Linked DNA regions of Homo sapiens: region 2 is linked to region 1. Evidence: promoter capture Hi-C in human tissues and cell types (Jung and others, 2019). All regions are on one chromosome and are shown on one strand. Each heading gives the region's core, a stretch centred on a gene start or on the middle of the fragment in contact. The rest is flanking DNA. Distances are from core to core; before and after follow the strand shown. Region 1 holds the start of TMOD2 (tropomodulin 2). Region 2 has its middle 3.9 kb from the start of TMOD3.

The links. Contacts are between HindIII fragments. The study calls those that stand out against the background at their distance.
Region 2: a fragment that was not itself captured here is called in contact with the fragment with the promoter of TMOD2 in region 1 in 4 of the 25 tissues and cell types used here (aorta, dorsolateral prefrontal cortex, lymphoblastoid cells and 1 more).

Annotation. Positions count from the first base shown.
Region 1 is chr15:51,745,850-51,753,074 of GRCh38, reverse strand. TMOD2 (tropomodulin 2) reads right to left here and starts at 1,478. Exons shown (of 10, transcript NM_014548.4): 1 at 1,363-1,478. It also overlaps a transcript of LYSMD2 not described here. RefSeq lists silencers at 1,065-1,124, 1,155-1,264, 1,315-1,744 and an enhancer at 1,855-1,924. The HindIII fragment of the contact is 8,938 bases long and covers 1-3,727 here.
Region 2 is chr15:51,822,652-51,828,862 of GRCh38, reverse strand. No RefSeq gene overlaps it. Among named protein-coding and RNA genes, the nearest start is that of TMOD3, 3.9 kb to the left of the region's middle. The HindIII fragment of the contact is 5,527 bases long and covers 2,031-6,211 here.

The DNA of each region.
Region 1 (7,225 bases), core at 229-2,728:
GTTACTTCTTGCTGGGGCTTCCTCCCCGACCTCCATGCTGACCACATTTGACCACTCGTGCCCAGCCCTAGGGAGCCACTAATCCTTTATCTGCTGATCCCATCACTTCACCTTCAGCAAATTAAAGACAAAAACAAACCCCATCATTTTGTTGCCCACCAATGTACAGTACCTTACAAAAATTAAAATGATTGCAATGCGTATTTATTGGGTTAGACTGAAGAGAGTCGATCGAGAAAATCAGTTTTATCTTTAAAAAAAAATCAGATTGCTGAAGCTCTGAAAAATCTTTCCTCCTCACTAGGGTAGAGGCGCTTGTTGTCACAATTAGGCTTTTTGTAGTGCTGTTAAACAGAAACACTCTCATCTTTTCAGTTCCCTGAGAGGGGAGAATCTTGGAAGAACAGAGGTTTACAAATCATTTAGCCCAAACGCCCCTTTACATGCAGAGGCCCAGAGAGGTGGAGGGACTTGCCCAGGTCCCTCAGCTCCTGAATGGTCAAGCTAAGAGGAGAACCTGGTTTTTAAAACACCTCCCCCGATCTTCTTTTCATTCCCGTCCTAAATGCCTCGTGATTCAGATATGTAATGGGCACAGACGAAGCTGCAGTAAGCACGGCCTCCTTCACTGCTAATTTGCATTGTGACGGCATCACCTTCCTACCTCTGAATACTCTAAAAATTCCCATTAGAAGCCTTTTATTACTGTTTTAAAAATCCACCTTCATTTCCGCAGGTCAACAGGGAACATTTAGGAAGCCTCAAGGGAGCACATACTACAATTACTTTAACCAGAAAAGTAATAACAATAATAATAAGGTTCTCGAGGATCCGCACGAGGCCGCTTACTGGGAGGCTGAAACGCCCTGCGAGTGACAGCTCCAGCGATCTCAGGAAAGACGCCGGCCAGTCCACCCCTCCCCATCGCCTGCTGAACGAGGCAGGGAGATGCATACCGCTCCAGGAGCTCACCAAACATGCACAGGAAGGGGAAAAGTGGGGGAACAAAGCCCGGAGTGGAAGAACACAGCCCCGCAGCCCGGGAGGACAGGAGACCGCGCCCTCCCCGCTGCGGCCCAGCGGGCTGCAGAGGCTGCGGCACCGCAGTGCGGGGCGCGGGACTCACACCCCGGCGGGCGCCTCCCGCCCGGGCGCAGCGCCTGGTCTCCCGGCGCAGCCGACCGGGCCGGGAGGCGAGAGGCGAGAGGCGGCCCGGCTCTGCACGCCCGCCCGGCCGACCGCCCATGTCGCGGAGCATCCTCCCGCGGGCAGGGAGGGCACGGCGGCCACCGCGCTGCGGGCCCGGGGGCTGCAGACACCGGCTGTCCAGAACAGGCCCCACCCGCCCCCCGGGGCGCTCACCCGTCCGTGCGCTCATCCCGGAGCCGGCTGTGCTGGCCGTCAGTCCGTCAGCCCCGGTGGAGCGGGGCCGGGAGAACAGGGGCGGCGCCGTGGCCGGGGCGAGCGCGGCGATCAACAGGCGGCTCCCGGCCGGGCGCGGCGCCGGGGCGCGCGGCTGCAGCGGAGCAGGCTGGGAAGCGTAGTTCCCGGCTGAGCCTCGCCGCGGCCCCGCAGTCCCCCAGCCCCGCCCTTCCCCGACAGGTGTCCTCTCCCGGAATCGGGGTCTGAACCCCGCCACAGCTCTGCAGGGGAGGAAGCACCTGGGTCGGGGAGAAGCCTGGGCAGGCTCTTTGGAGACGCTCGGGGCTCCGGAGAGCGTGGATGGCAAAGGCTTTCAAGCCTGTGATGAGCATTCCTGTGAGCGAGCATCCTGACACGGAAGCCGCGTTGAGAGCGGTCTCAGGTACAGACCCCGCCCGCCCCAGGTTTTCCTGGCTGGGCGTGGGCGTGGGAGGAGAGAGTAGTTGGGTTGGCAGCCTAGGGAGGGAAGGAGGTAAGCGAGGTGGAAGTTAGCAAGGCTCTAGGGTGATGGCGTGAGGGGCTGGAGAGCCCAAGCGCAGTGGCGGCTTCACTGAGGTGAGACCGGACAACTTAGCCTGTCTGAGCCTTCGCGTCCTCATCTGTAAAACAGGCTTCAAGCTTGAAAAAGTGTTGTGAGGATTAAGCGACCCATAGCACTTAGGATCTGGCACTTAGTGCATACTCAGTGAAAGTTCCTTCCTTGGGGTTTCCGAGGGAGTTCTTGGGCCGGGAAAGTCCTATATGTCGTGCTAACCTAAAGATAGTTGGACCTCGTTGGGCTGGGTAAATGTTAAAATCCACTGGGTTTGTTAGTCGTTGAGCCCGTTCACTTCATCCCTGAATATACCCTGAGATGTTCTGTCTGCCAGGTTCTTGAGAGCTCCAAAGATAGAGAAAATAAAGTCAAGTTTCTGAAGCATGACAGCAGAGTGGGGTGACATAGGACAAAGACCAACATTATGAAAATACATGGCATCTAGATTTAACTTCCAGAGGCCTTTTCTAATTAGATGTGATATCTCTCTCCTTCTTGAACTTTTGCAGCATATTTTGAGCATAACCTTTGCTTATGGGACTTATCTTGGCAGTCTAAGGTTCGTTGAGTTTTGCAAGTTGCTGCTATGCAGTGTTTCACATGATGGTGGGATTTGCATTCACAGATGTAGTGGAGGAAAATGAACCAAAGGGATGGATGCAGCATGGCTGGTGTAATCTCTATATGAAATTTTAGGCAAAATGTGAAAAGAGGTGAAACAGCTTTATAGTCTGTCTGGCACGAGGTGTGCAGTAATCGTGTGGCCAAAAAAACGTGCTGCAGAGGAAATTCCACATCTGAAAATGATAACACTGGTTTGCATTTATGAAAATACTTTCCTATTTGTGTTCTCATTTGATTTTTACAAGAACCCTTGTGAGACAGGCAGAGTGAAGGTATTTTTCCCCAATGATAGTTAATAAGAGGCACAGAGAGGTGATGTGACTTATTCAAGGTCATAGGGGTGTTCAGTAAGCCTGTCTTCTCTCCTTCCACTGTGGGCACCCCCAGCACTGTCTCCCTTTTGCACATTGCAAAATAGGGCCATACCTTCCCCAGCAGATGGGTTGAACCAGAAAGTAAAGTTAATCCTCTAAAACTCTGGGAACTAGCATGATGAACACTGGCACGCAGTGGCTGCTGACTGAGAGACCAGTGTTGTTTCTATGATCAATTGTGGTAATGGACTATATCTTGGGCCTCCTGTCAGAATGACAAATCTGAGCCAGAAAGAGTTAAATGAAATGGGGGTGTGACCAAATTACTTTAAGTCATGTTCCCAAGTTTTCCTGTACATTTGTTATTCCGAATGTCCTGTGTAACCGACAGGATGCCTTTGACTTTTTTATGTTGTACATTTGTTACAGTCATAGCCTTCTGTTAAATAAGAACAGGGCTGCTTACGGATCGAGCCAGCAGTTTTCCCAGAGAAAGCTGATAGTAGGCATATGCTGAAAATAATAAAGCAATTTCATTCATATTGGAAGAAAGAGTAGCAAAGGTGCTCAGTAGTGTACAGTATTTCTCTTTGGTTTCCCGTGGTTCTGCACGAGGAAAATGGCTGCATGTGATAAAACGAATAGAGTATTCCTTCAGAAACTAGCCATGAAAGGAAGCAGACAGGGGAATGATTTAAGTTAAAGTCATGTTCGGCAGTCGAAGCAGAGATACAAGAGCTATCCTACAGCCCCAGAGCCATGCTCCAGGAGGATGCTGACACCAAAATAAAGTGAGTTGTGAAAAGAAACTTCTGATCAGTCTCTGTCTGTATGATGAGTGTTGGAAGCTGGAAGGTGTTAAAGGATGAGTGAGGGAAGTAGAACATTTAACCTAATGTTAAAACTTAATGGAAAGATATTACCAGTTCCAGTCTGTTTAGCTCTTTAAATCTATTGCCTATGTCTTATCTTAAGGAAGAAAGGATGTCAATATGCCTATGACTTATCAGTTGAAACCCATGATCATTTCTGGACCATATCTTGTAAGTTTAACTTTTCTACTTGCTTTTTAGAAGATGAAAATGTAAAATTGAAACAGAACTCCTGGAGCTGGAAGGGACCTTACATATCATTTTGTGTAGCCATTTCTTCCTGTAAATGAGGAAGCTGATATATTGACTGTAATTGTCAAATGGCAGAAAGGAAAAAAGTTCAACGTGGCAGTTATAATGAAGTATTTTAATTATTCACAGTGGAATATGTAGCACACCTCATTAGGAACAGGTAGTAGACACTGTTGGTTGTCTATTAAACATTCAGTCCACCCTCTTCTTCTTTATAGAAGCCTATATGGGTGTTTACACATTAGGAAAGGTGACCCTATTAGCCTCTGAGAGGTACACTCTCAAATCTATCATAGACAAGAGGAATAGAATCCTCTTAACTGGCCTGTAAGAGTTTAGGAGTGGACATGTGACCCAGTTCTGGCCATTGTAAAGAGATACGATGAATCTGGGTCGGCCATATTGTTGTTGAGTCAGTCATCAACCAGCCCCAGTGCTGCCCTTCTTCTGGATTTCTTGTTATATGAGATAATAAATAACCTTATTGTTGAGTCAATTTGAGATGGAGTTTTCTGTTACTTGAAGCTGAAAGCATCCTAAGTGTTAAAGATGAAATGTGAAAGTACATTCTTTGGATGGACTGAAAGACTGCTTCCTAGAGTTGATTAAAAACAACCACCACAAACCACAGGCAATGTGATGGGATATTATCATATAACAGATAACAACATGGGTTTTAACATCAGAGAGTTTGAACCCAGATATTTACTGGCACAATGACTATGGCCAAGTTTCTGTAACCTCCCTTAAGCCTCATTTTCTTCATCTTTTTTTTTTTTTTTTTTTTTTTTTTTGAGACGGAGTCTTGTTCTGTCACCAGGCTGGAGTGCAGTGGTGCGATCTTGGCTCACTGCAACCTCTGGGTTCAAGCGATTCCCCTGCCTCAGCCTCCTGAGTAGCTGGGACTACAGGTGCTGCCACTACACCCGCCTAATTCTTTGTATTTTAGTAGAGACGGGGTTTCACCATGTTGACCAGGATGGTGTCGATCTCCTGACCTTGTGATCCACCTGCCTCGGCCTCCCAAAGTGCTGGGATCACAGGCGTGAGCCACCGGGCCCGGCCTTCTTCATCTCTTAAACTGAGGATAATAATACTTACCACATGGGGTTATTAGAAAGACTAACTGAGATAATTTGTGTCAAAGATGCTTCAAAGGATATGGTGGATGATAAAGACTAAAGGAGCAGTGACTATGTTGATGAATTATGAATTAAATCGTATGTGTAGTATAATTGACAGCAAACATCTAAAAGCTAATTACTATGTAATCATGATCATGTTAAATGATACCACAGTGATGCAATCAGCAAAATCCAAAATATAGGAAGCTCTACATGACAAACAACTGATTCTTCAATAAATAAATTGCAAGAAAAATAAAAGGAGAGAAAGCTTATAGATACACAGAAATTCAAGAGACAAATAACAAAATGTAATGTGTGATCTTAATTTGAGAAAGCAGCTGTTAAAAATTCACATTAATGAGACAATTAGGGAAAATGTGAACACAGAATATTTGATTATATTAAGGTCTGTTTTCTAAAATTATTATTATTATTTTGAGACAGAGATTTGCTCTTGTTGCCCAGGCTGGAGTGCAATGGCGTGATCTCGGCTCACCACAGCCTCCACCCCCTGGGTTCAAGCGATTCTCCTGCCTTAGCCTCCCAGGTAGCTGGGATTACAGGCATGCGCCACCACGCCTGGCTAATTTTGTATTTTTAGTAGAGATGGGGTTTCTCCATGTTGGTCAGGCTAGTCTCAAACTCCTGACCTCAAGTGATCCGCCTGCCTCAGCCTCCCAAAGTGCTGGCATTACAGTTTTTGTTGTTGTTGTTGTTGTTGTTGGTTTTGAGACAGAGTCTTACTCTGTTACCCAGGCTGGAGTGCAATGGCGTGATCTCGGCTCACTGCAACCTCTGCCTCCCGGGTTCAAGCAATTCTCATGTCTAAGCCTCCCAAGTAGCTGGGACTACAGGCGTGTGCCACCAAGCCCGGCTAATTTTCGTATTTTTTTTTTTTTTTTTTTTTTTTTAGTAGAGACAGGGTTTCACCATGTTGGCTAGGCTGGTCACGAACACCTGACCTCAAGTGATCTGCCTGCCTTGGCTTCTCGAAGTGTTGGGATTACGGGCATGAGCCACCATGCCTGGACTAAGGTGTTATTTTAAAAAATTTTTTGATGTGACAACAGTATCATGATTATTTTTTTGAAGAGTCCTTACTTTTTGGAGCGATAAACTGATTATTTACAGAAGAAATAATATCAGGAATTTACTTTAAAAATTATCGAGTGTGGGAGACGGGGTAGAGTGGTGGGGTGGGGTATAGATGAAATGATTGGCCATGAGTTGATAATGGTTGAAGCTGAGTGTTGGAGCTTTATTAAACCATTCTCTCTCTTTCTCTCTCTCTAAATACAGTTTTGTTAAGACATATTTCACATATCATAAATTCACCTTTTTAAAATGCACAGTTCAATGGTTTTTAGTATATTCACAGAGTTGTGTAACTATCTCCCAATCTATTATAACTTTAGAACGTTTTCAAAACTTCAGAAGAAACCACAGACATGTTAGCACTCATTCCTCATTCCCCCTACACACCCAGACTCTGGCAATCACAAATTTATTTTTTGTCTTCTCTAGATTTGCTTATTCTGGATATTTCACGTAAATGGAATCATACAACATGTTGTCTTTTATGACTGGCTTCTTTCCCTAATTATAATATTTTTAGGGTTCATCCATGTTGTAATACACATTAGTACTTTATTCTTTTTTATGGCCAAATAGAATTCATTGCATGGATAGACCACATTTTGTTTATCTGTTCATCAGTGGATGGACATTTAGACTGCTTCCACAGTTTTGCTGTTATGAATAATGTTGCTATGCACACTCATATACAAATTTTTGTACAGATATATTTTTATTTCTCTTGGGTATATATCTAGGAGTGCAATTACTGTGTCATATGGTAACTTTATATGAAGCATATTGAGGGACCACCAAACTGTTTTCCAAAGTATCTGCACCATTTTACATTCTAACCAGCAATGGGTGAAAATTCCAATTTCTCCACATCCTTGCTAACACTCGTTAATGTCTTTTTAAAATTATAGCCATCCTAGTTAATATGCAGTGGTATCTCATTGTGATTTTAATGATTTCCCTAATGACTAATGATGTTGAACATTTTTT
Region 2 (6,211 bases), core at 3,545-6,044, 72 kb before region 1:
AATGCTAAACTTTGACACACCTTTCAAAAATGCAGCCAAAGAAGTGGACTGACGTGCCTGCTTGAGGTACATTCCAGCTACACCCAGTGTGCGAGCCACTTCATGGTTTAAACCTCTCCTGGCATCTACTTCTTCCCCTCAGAGGAGGGAGGACCCTAGGTTAGATAAACATCCTGGAATTTCATGCAACTGGCACCCACTAATTTCAGCAATGGAGATCACTGATGGTTTAGGTTTTTAAGGGAAAAAAACCCTTCTTTTTTTTTTTCCAAGACAGAGTCTTGTTCTGCCGCCCAGGCTAAAGTGCAGTGGTGTGATCTCGGCTCACTGCAACCTCTGCCTCCCAGGTTTAAGTGATTCTCTTGTCTCAGCCTCCCAAGTAGCTGGGATTACAGGCACGTGCCACCACACCCAGCTAATTTTTGTAGTCCTAGTAGAGATGGGTTTTCACCATGTTGGCCATTCTGGTCTTGAACTCTTGACCTCATGATCTGCCCACCTTGGCCTCCCAAAGTGCTGGGATTACAGGCGTGAGCCACCGTGCTTGGCCAGGAAAAAACCCTTCTCAATTGCAAATACTTAGAGGACAGTCAACACTCAATCTTGTGGCCATTGCATTTTATTTTCTATACCATCTTTGGGTCAATCTCTTGGAGATAACAGCTTTCTGAGAGCAATTTCCTACAGAATTCAGGTTCATAAGAATGTTTATACTTATAATACATACCAACCACTGGGCCAGCACTTCATTTGTAATATCTCATCTAATCCTCAAAACTAATCTAGTCCTCAAAACTCTATAAAGAATAAACTGGTATCCTCCATTTCTATAGATAAGAAAATGAAGACTCAGAAAAGTTAAGTAATTTGTATAAGGTCCCAGAGCCAGTAATTGGAGATCCAGAGATGAGACACAGTTCTCTTGAGTCAAATTCTAATGTGATTTCCACTGCTGATCAGACTGATGTGTCTCCTAAATCTCATCAATTTTTTTTTTTTTGAGACAATCTCATTCTGTCACCCAGGCTGTAGTGAAGTGGTGCTATCATGGCTCGCTGCAGCCGTGACCTCCTGGGCTCAAGCAATCCTCCAACCTCAGCCTCCTGAGTAGCCTGAGCAGCTGGGACTACAAGCATATGCCACCACACCCAACTAATTTTTTTAATTTTTTTTTTTTTGTAGAGACAGGGTCTCCCTATGTTGCCCAGGCTGGTCTTGAACTCCTGGGCTCAAGGGACCCTCCCACCGTGGCCTCCCAAAGTACTGAAATTATAGACATGCAACACCATACCCAGCTGATATGGTTTATTTTAAGAAGGACTTTCCTCTGCAATATGGCTTCTTTTGCTTTGGTCAGAGAGACTTTTTAATTCAGTGTCTGACTGACTTAATCTATTACACTTTTCCTCTCTCACCTTCCAATATGGGCTGTTAGGCATATATTAAATATATTTTCGCTATTCATTTCAAATTTTTCCTAACGAATGTATACATCTTATTTTAGTTCCTTTTTCTAAAATAATGCAGTTTGATGGTGGATTTTTTCCTTTCTTCAGGCATACATTATCATATTTTTATCACAAAGCTTATAAACATGAATCTCTTAAATCCGTGTACATTAAATACCACATATGGGGCCAGAGATGTTAAGAGTAATACCTTAGTATTGGATAGCACTGAAGAGGTAGAACCTTCCTCACTTCTTCCACTCCTTTGCTATAACACATTCGCTATATTAGCAGCCAGAATGACTTTTTTTTTTTTGAGACGGAGTCTCTGTCTGTCGCCCAGGCTGGAGTGCAGTGGCGTGATCTCTGCTCACTGCAACCTCTGCCTCCGGGGTTCAAGCAATTCTGCCTGCCTCAGCCTCCCTAGTAGCTGAGATTACAGGCCCCCCACCCCACCACACCCAGCTAATTTTTGTATTTTTTTAGTAGAGACGGGGTTTCGCCATGTTGACTAGGCTGGTCTTGAACTCCTGACCTCAGGTGATCTGCCCACTTTGGTCTCCCAAAGTGCTGGGATTACACGCGTGAGCTACCACTCCCAGCCCAGAATGATCTTTTAAAAACAAATCAGATCATATCACCATCTTGCTCCAAACCGTTCATGGCTTCCATCACATTTAGAATAAAATCCATAATTAACACCTCTACAAATCTGTATATGATTGTTTTGTTTCCTACCACATATTCTCTCTGATACTGCTCTAGTCATACTGGCCTCCCTGAGGTTTCTTAATCCTGCCAAGTTTCTCCCCATCTCAGAGTCTTTATGCTGTGCAGGAGAATGATTTTCCTCCCAGATGCTTCTAGCTCATGCCCTCATTTTAATGAAGGTTCTGCTCACATGTTACCTCTGAAAGTCTTCCTCTTACCACCTTACCCTGCCATTCTCTCCTTTCTTTACTTGTCGTCATAGCACTTTTACCACATAGCTTCATATTGCTTGTTTCCTTAGTGGAAGCTCAACAAGCTTTGCTTTGTTTACTCCTCCATCCCTAGCATCTACAATACTGCCTGCACACAGAAAGTATTCAATAAATATTTGTAAATAAATGAATGTTGGGTTCTTCCCTCTCTCTCCTACTCTCCTCTTGGGACACAGACCCAGAAGGTTCACCTGTAAATGCCAGCCAGTGACCTGATTTGGATGTAAACACCAGCTGCAAGAGGGTTGACTACACAGGAGAATAAGATCCTGTGAAAGTCCTGAAATAGAGACAGAGCTCTCTTTTAAAAAGGCTATAATTTAGGGTTGCCACTATTCCCTTAGAGTTGGAAACATAATTCTTGGAGGAAAACAAACAGGAAAAACATGGAAATTAGATTTACATAAATAAGTGAAAAGGTAAGTCCACTAAATACCTGTGGTAGATTGAAATATTGTTCCCACATATTTGCTCTCCTTTAGAGGAATAGACAGGCTTGCCCACTACTATGTGACTTCCAGTGCTGCCCCGCAGGCATTCCAGGCTTGGCTATGATCCCATGATGGGATTTTCCTCCTCTCTTCGGTTAAATGTCATATTGTAATCACAAAGTTTAGAAACATGAATCTTGCTTTGGTCAATAAAATATAAGTGGAAGGGACAATCCGACAGTTCTGGGTGGAAGCTTTAAGAGTCACTGCCTTTCTCTACTAGTGTGCCTGCTCTTTCCCTCCACCAAGAGAGACAAGTTCTGAATAGAGGCTGGTCCTTCTGCCTGGGTTCTAGAATAAGAAATTACATGGATCAGAGCCTCAGCCACTAGCTGACATAATATATAATGTGAGCGAAGGGGAAACTGAGGTTTAGGTTCGTTTGTTACTATAGACTTACTTAGCAAAAGCTGACTACTATAGTGCCTAATCAAAGAAACATGATGATCTGAACTAGAAGTGGTATGGCACCCCCAACCGTCTGCATTTAACCCACTTCAAGTAATGGAAAACTGTTGAAGTTCAACAGGCTAACACACTACAGAGAACAAATCTGAGGCCTTCAGGTAAAATATTTGAACAAGGGACAGAGTATGGTTCCCATTAGTGTTCAGGGTTTGGTTAGAGTGAAAGTGATTGATAAAATGACACTTCAACTCTACTTTATGTGTTAATATTACAAGCTCTAATTAGTGTTATCTCTAAACTTCCAGCCAGAATAACTCAGAAAGCATGTCACACTGAATCATCGTATGCTAATTAATAACAGCAGCACTTTTCTTGTTATCAAAGAGTTCCTTTAGGAAATAGTTACTTTGGTATATGTAAGCATATTTTGTGTGTATGTAAAAACGTGTATTTATAGGAGAGCTGAGAAAAACTAAAGACAAAAATTTGAAATGAAAAGGGAAGGATTTCATTATGGAAGCTTGGAGGTAGGAATCCTATGGAAGCAGTGGGAGGTAGCAATCACAGAAGACAAACATCATGGCTGGGTACATACCGGTTTTTTTTTTTTTTTTTTTTTTGAGATGGAGTCTCTCTCTGTCACCCAGGCTGGAGTGCAGTGGCGTGATCTTGGCTCACTGCAAGCTCCACCTCCCGGGTTCACACCATTCTCCTGCCTCAGCCTCCCAAGTAGCTGGGATTCCAGGTGTGCACAACCATGCCTGGCTAATTTTTGTATTTTTAGTAGAGACGGGGTTTCACCATGTTGGCCAGGCTGGTCTCAAACTCGTGACCTCAGGTGATCTGCCTTCCTTGACCTCCCAAAGTGCTGGGATTACAGGCATGAGCCACCACGCCTGTGTGCATACAGTTTTACAGGAAAGATTCAAGCACACTTTTTGGCCTCAAGTGCCCCTTTTTCTATAACCCATCTCTGCCTGTTAGAAGCCTCCTCATGTTTCATTGTCCATCTCAAATGTCTGTTCCCCACTCAACCTTCACTAATGCCATCAGCTGGAATTAATTTTGCCTTTCCCATATTTTCATACCCCATTATGCCTCCATTAGAAGTGCACTGAATACACATTTCAGCCAAATGCCAAAAGGGCCAAAAAATAAGTCACTCTTCAGCTGAAGCCAAAGTTGATGACAAACATCACTATTAAAGAATAAACTTCTGGGATATGCACATAAACCTAAAATATTATCCCCAAATTTTAATACTATTTTAATAATATTAAAAATGTTAGTGCTAAAACTGTTCAGTTTAACATTTACTATAGAAGCAATAAATTCCCAGTGCTGTCCATTGTTAGACTCTCCTACAGTCACTGCAGAAAGCCAAATTTCAGCTCAGGTGAGTGAATGAATATGATCCCTGTCATAAATGGAATTAAATAAGAATTAAATTCAGGTCTTTAAATGATAAATGCTAGATGCCCCAAACCCTTCTACCAAGACCAGAGTTGTGATATGATTTAACTTCTGCTTACTTTTCCTTGTCTTTATTTATTTTTATTTATTATTATTATTTGTTTTTGAGACAGAGTCTCACTCTGTCGCCCAGGCTGGAGTGCAATGGCACGATCTTGGCTCACTGCAACCTCCACCTCCTGGGTTCAAGCGATTCTCCTGCCTCAGCCTCCTGAGTAGCTGGGACTACAGACGTGCACCACCACACCTGACTTATTTTTGTATTTTTAGTAGAGACAGGGTTTTGCCATGTTGGCCAGGCTGATCTTAAACTCCTGACCTCAAGTGATCCTCCAACCTCGGCCTCCCAAAGTGCTGGGATTACAGGTGTGAGCCACCGCGCCTGGCCTCCTTGTATTATTTGAATTTTTTATAAACATTTATTGGCTTGAAAACAATGTATTGTTTTTTCTAGGTTATCTAGCCAATGGATTCCTTCTTGATATTTGTAGTGATTGTCAGCTTATTTTCCTATTTGCTTAAAAGTCTTAAATAATTGTTTCTTTTTGTCTTTTACTAAATTCTTATTGATACATTATAATTGTACATATGCATGGGAGTACATGTGATATTTTGCTACATGATACAATGTGTAATAATCAAACCAGGGTAATTGGTCATCATCTCAAACATTGATTATTTCTTTGTGTTGAGAACATTTCAAATCTTCCAGCTATTTTGAAATATGCAATACATTATTGACAACTACAGTCACCCTACTGTGCTGTTGAACCACTAAAACTTATTCCAAGTGTATTTTTGTACCCATTAACTAAACTGTCTTCATTTTTATCCTCCTTAAGTTTTTAATTTGTTTGTTTGTTTGTTTGTTTTTAGATGAAATCTCGCTCTGTTGCCCAGGCTGGAGTGCAGTGGTGCGACCTTGGCTCACTGCAACCTCTGCCTCCCGGGTTCAAGTGATTCTCCTGCCTCAGCCTCCCGAGTAGCTGGGACTTCAGGCGTGCACCACCACACCCAGCTAATTTTTTTGTATTTTTAGTAGACACAGGGTTTCACCATGTTGGTCAGGCTGATCTCAAACTACTGACTTCAAGTGACCCACCCACCATGACCTCCCAAAGTGCTAGGATTACATGTTTGAGCCATCGCACCCAACCAGTTCTTTAGAGAAGTTTTACAAGTGTTTACCCTTCAAAAAGCTTAAGGTTCTATAAAAATGTTATGAACCTTTCCTAAATTCCTGGCTTTTAAAGTGATGCATCCATAAGTGAGCCTAAGTACATAAAAGAAACTTGTGGTATCAGGAGGCTGGGCCAAAATGTGTGCATTACTAGAACATGAAAAGCACCATCAGGGGATTACTTTTTAAATTTCTTTTTCAGGTTGTTCATTGTTGGCATATAGAAAT